Linked DNA regions of Homo sapiens: region 1 is linked to region 2. Evidence: promoter capture Hi-C in human tissues and cell types (Jung and others, 2019). All regions are on one chromosome and are shown on one strand. The core of a region is centred on a gene start or on the middle of the fragment in contact, and the rest is flanking DNA. Distances in the headings are between cores, read along the strand shown.

Region 1 (2,700 bases), core at 142-2,641, 1.0 Mb after region 2:
GAAAGTAGATTAGTGGTTGCCTAAAGCTAGAAGGCATGGGAAGATTGGGAATGACAGCTAAAGGGTACAGGGGTCTTTTTGGTGTAATGAAAACATTCTAAAATTGATTGTGATGATTGTTGCACACCTCTGTGCAATCTACTAAAAACCATTAAATTGTACACTTTTAATGGGTAAATTGGATGGTATGTGAATTATATTTCAATAAATCTCTTGCCCAAAAAATAATAATGAATGATTGCTTTGCAAATTTCAGCATTTCAAATAACTTGTAAAGCAATGTATTATTCAGCAAGTGGTGTTAAAACTGCCTATTATTTTTTGGAAATAAATTTTAAAAAACTAATTTTCTAAATTTAAAAACTTGTTTGGAAAATACTAGGAATCATCAAAATGTTATTTGGAAAATATTTACTTAGAAATATACATCTAATTAAAATTAAAATTTTAGTTTTGATGGAATAAAATTTTAAAGGTGGCCGGGCGCGGTGGCTCACGCCTGTAATCCCAGCACTTTGGGAGGCCGAGGCGGGCGGATCACGAGGTCAGGAGATCGAGACCACGGTGAAACCCTGTCTCTACTAAAAATACAAAAAATTAGCCGGGCGCAGTGGCGGGCGCCTGTAGTCCCAGCTACTCTGGAGGCTGAGGCAGGAGAATGGCGTGAACCCGGAAGGCGGAGCTTGCAGTGAGCGGAGATCGCGCCACAGCACTCCCGCCTGGGCGACAGAACGAGACTCCGTCTCAAAAAAAAAAAAAAAAAAAAAAAAATTTAAAGGTACAAAAATAAATTATGAAAGTACTAAATAAAATTTGGGTAAATATATATTTTATACATTAATATTGTATATATGGGGTGGGCAAAGCTTTTCTAAACATGTAGCAAGGACAGAAATCATAAAGGAATACACTGATTAATGATATAATAAGGGAAAACTTACACATTTTTTTGAACATTAAAATTGAAGGAAAAATGATAAATTTGGACAAATGTTTGCAACATGGTGGGGAAATGATTAAAAAGTCAACATATGAAGTACTCTTAGCAATAAAAGACCATCTCTTCAGTAAAATACTAGGCATGAACATGCGTAGGCAGTTCAGTAAAGAATTACAAATAAAAACATGAAAAATATGTGGTATCTCACTAAAAATCAAAGAAATACAGTCGTTCATTGTTTAAGGTGATTTTGTCCTGTGAACATCATAGAGTGTACTTACACAAACCTAGATAGTATAGCCTACTACACACCCAGGCTATATGATATAGCCTATTGCTCCTAGGCTACAAACCTGTACTATGAGTGTACTGAATACTATAGGCAGTTGTAGCAGAATGGTAAGTTTTTGTGTATTTAAACATAGAAAAGGTACAGTAAAAATACAGTATTATAATCTCATGAGACCACAGTCATAAATGCAGTTCATCATTGACTGAAATGTCATTATTCAGCACAGGACTGTACTAATCAGATCATAACTATGTAAGGTGATGGACGTGCTAATTAGATTGTGGCAGTTATTTCACAACGTACACATATATCAAAACATCACGTTATATACCTTAAATATGTGCAATTTTTATTTGTCAAGTATATTTCAGTAAAGCTAAGGGGAAAAAAGAAATATTAATTAATGCAATGTTGAGATACCTTTTCTGCCTATCAAGTTGGTACATATTAAATTGGTGGCAATATGGGGATGTGGGCAGTCTTGTGCACTGCTGGTGGCAACATGTTGCAGGAGCAATTGCATGTCAACTTGGAAATACATATCAAAATCCTGAAAAATACATGTCTTAGGGTCTTAGGGCTGCCATAACAAAGTACTACAAACGAGGTTGCTTAACTCAACAGAGATTTATTTGTCCACAGTTCTGAAGTCTGTAAGTCCAAAATCAAACAGGTCCATGCTCCCCTGAAGGCTCTAGAAAAACACCCTTCCTTGCCTCTTCCTAGCAATGGTTGTTTCCTGCAATCCTTGCATTCCTTGGCCTGCAGTTGCATCACTCCAGTTGCTGCCTCTGTCTTCACATGGCCTTTTTCCCTCTGTATGTGTCTCCGTATCCCTTTCTTCTTTCTCTTATAAAAACACCAGTACAGCCAGGTGCGGTGGCTTACGCCTGTAATCCCAGCACTTTGGGAGGCCAAGTTGGGTGGATCACTTGAGGCCAGGAGTTTGAGACCAGCCTGGCCAACATGGTGAAACCCTGTCTCTCCTAAAAACATAAAAATTAGCTGGGCTTGATGATGTGCACCTATAACCCCAGCTACTCAGGAGGCTGAGGCAGGAAAATCACTTGAACCCAGGGGGCAGAAGTTGCAGTGAGCCGAGACCGTGCCACTGCATTCCAGCCTGAGTGACAGAGCAAGATTCCATCTCAAAACAAACAAAAAACACCAGTCATTGAATTTAGGGCCTACTCTAATCCACTGTGACCTCATCTTAACTAATTCCATCTGCAAGACCCTATTGTGTTCATGTAAATTGAACATTTTTATATGAAAAAAGACTATATACAAAGATCAAAGATAAATGACAAAATGGAAAAAATGCACACCATAAATACGATTTTTGACCACCTGTAGCTTCTAAATTTCTCCAATAAAGAAGGCTTATTTTTGTGAGAGAAAACTGAGAACTGTTACTTTAAAATAAATGCTCTGTGAAACACAAGAGACTAAATATTACAATGGAGAG
Region 2 (2,700 bases), core at 114-2,613:
AGATTAAGCTCTATTTCCTCCTCCTCCATCCCCATCAAGCATAGTACCCTTCTCCAAAGCCCATCCTTCTAAATGTAATTCTTTTTTTGAGGGGGAGGGGGGATCAATACTCAGTTTTTTTTTGTTTTGTTTTTTTTTTTTTTTTGAGACGGAGTCTTGCTCTGTCACCCAGGCTGGAGTGCAGTGGTGCGATCTCGGCTCAAGGCAAGCTCCGCCTCCCGGGTTCACGCCATTCTTCTGCCTCAGCCTCCCAAGCAGCTGGGACTACAGGCGCCCACCACCACGCTCGGCTAATTTTTTTGTATTTTTAGTAGAGACGGGTTTTCACCGTGTTAGCCAGGATGGTCTCGATCTCCTGACCTCGTGATCCGCCCACCTTGGCCTCCCAAAGTGCTGGGATTACAGGCGTGAGCCACCGCGCCCGGCCAATACTCAGTATTTATGTAACAATAAATACAATTACTTTCCTTTCTTGCACAAGATTTTGTTTTCCCTAGAATTAATAGCTGCATAATTCTTACAGCCGCTTAGTTTTCTGTGTACCTGTCATGAGTTAAACTCCAAACTCTCGGTCAAATCTCCTCTTGATTCAACGCCAGCTGGAATTTTGTCAATCCCATCCTTCTGAAGCAGTGTCTCCCAAAGATTTCTGACCGAATCTAATCTAGATGCGTTGCCGTCTATGCCTATACACAGCTATTGTTCCCGGAGCTCTTTCAGTATCATCTTGGGATCTTACTATTTTCTGTGTTTGTTATTTATTGTATTTCCTGCATTTCATAATTTCCTCCTTCTTGGCTTATTCCCTCATTTTGGTGGATCAGATCTACAGGATCTTCCTGGAGGTACTGAGAAAGGTAAGATAGGTACTATTTTTTGTGTGTAGTGATTTAGCACATCTGAAACTCTATTCTATTCACACACTAGATTGGTAGTTGGATGAGTATTGAAGACTAAATCGGAAGTAATTTTCCCTCAGAGTTTTGAAGACAGTGCCGTATGGCTTCCTAGATTCTAACTGAGCAATCTGAAGCCACTCTGATTCTATAGTCTGTATAACCTGGAAGGGTGTGGGATCTCTTTTTCCTCGATGTTCAGAAAATTCACAATGATATGCCTTGACGTGGATGCTTTAATATTTGTGCTGGGTGCTTAGTAGGATCTTTCAGTGTGGAAACTCATCTCCTTAACATCTGGACAACTTTTTGAAGTCATTTATTATTTCCTGCCTTTCATTTTTTTTTTGGTTTGGAACTCCTGCACTGGTCCTGTGATGTGACTGCAGCCGCCAGGCGCGTGCGCAGTGTACACTGCGTGCGCATACGCGAGCCCGTTGCGCCTGCGCGCGGTGCGGCCGTCGCCCCTCTTTTCGCGGCGTTCTCCACCTGCGCGGGCCTGAATGGCCTTCAGGAGCACAGTCGGCCTGAGGAGTTGACGGTTACTCACCGCCGTGAGCCCAAGTAACTCGCCCTCCTTCGGCTAGAAACCCTCCGCCTGGGCCCGCGCGACAGGAGCGCGGTCTCTGAGGGGAGCGGCGACCCCGCCAGCCCCGGTCTCTTTCCCTGGCGGCGGCGGCTTCTTCCGTGGGACAATATGTTCAAGAGAATGGCCGAATTTGGGCCTGACTCCGGCGGGAGAGTAAAGGTCAGTGCCCGGACCGCCCCTCTTCCGGGGTGGCTCTCCCGCCTCGGTTCCTCCCTGCGCGGCGCGGGGAGGGCCCACTGGGTTTCCTTTCGCGCCTTTTCTCCTCGGGTTTGAACCGTGGTTTCAGGTTGGAGAGCGAGTCAGAGCCATTGAGCGAAAAACCGGCGTTCATTGGGCCCCAACTTCCTCGCGTCACTGCCAACTCCCACCCCCGCCAAAAAACAAACAGATAAATGGTGGCTTGGGGAAACCCGGACGTGGCTGCCAAGGAAACGGGCGACTCCGAGGGCTGGGAAAGCTCAGCTTGGTGCACATTCGCTGCCAATCTAGGTTATTGGTGAAGCGGTGACGCCACCCTCCTGGTGTGAGGATAACAATAACTGTAGCAAACAGTCGCTGAGCGCTTACCCGCAGTATTTCCAAGTGCGGTAACTGAGACACCGAGGCATACGAAAGCTAAGAAAATTTGCTGGAGTTCATGGTGTTCACAAAGCCTCAAAGCAAGAGCATAACACTGTGCCTGGCACATGGGGAACATTCAGTAAATGTCAACTTCTTTTGTTTTTGATGAAATTACCATAGACCCTAGCGTAATGTTTGACATTGTAATATTTATTTCCCTCACACAGCCCCTGGCACGTTAATTTTTTTTTTTTTTTGAGACGAAGTGTCTGTCTTGTTGCCCAGGCTGGAGCGCAATGGCACGATCTCGGCTCACTGCAACCTCGGCCTCCCAAAGTGCTGGGATTACAGGCGTGAGCCACCGCGCCCAGCCGTGGTTCATTCTTTTTAAAGAAAAATTTCCTTTCCTTTATAAATAAAAATCAGAAGGGGTACAAATAGTTGTTTTTATCAGGAGCCAGTGGGTCCTGCCTTAAAAATTAACGTGCAGGGCCGGGCAAGGTGGCTCACGCCTGTAATCCCAGCACTTTGGAAGGCCGAGGAGGGTGGATCACCTGAGATCAGAAGTTCAAGACCAGGCTGGTCAACATGGTGAAACCCCGTCTCTACTAAATATACAAAAATTAGCCGGGCGTGGTGGCGGGCACCTGTAAT

Evidence for each region. Contacts are between HindIII fragments. The study calls those that stand out against the background at their distance.
Region 1: a contact is called between a fragment that was not itself captured here and the fragment with the promoter of YEATS4 in region 2, in 1 of the 25 tissues and cell types used here (dorsolateral prefrontal cortex).

The regions. Positions count from the first base shown.
Region 1 is chr12:70,381,687-70,384,386 of GRCh38, forward strand. All of the region lies in intron 1 of KCNMB4 (potassium calcium-activated channel subfamily M regulatory beta subunit 4), which reads left to right. Among named protein-coding and RNA genes, the nearest start is that of KCNMB4, 17 kb to the left of the region's middle. The HindIII fragment of the contact is 3,527 bases long and covers 1-2,700 here.
Region 2 is chr12:69,358,380-69,361,079 of GRCh38, forward strand. It overlaps YEATS4 (YEATS domain containing 4), which reads left to right and starts at 1,364. Exons shown (of 7, transcript NM_006530.4): 1 at 1,364-1,644. The coding sequence starts at 1,594. RefSeq lists enhancers at 1,108-1,711, 1,269-1,458, 1,712-2,313 and a silencer at 1,739-1,898. The HindIII fragment of the contact is 10,052 bases long and covers 1-2,700 here.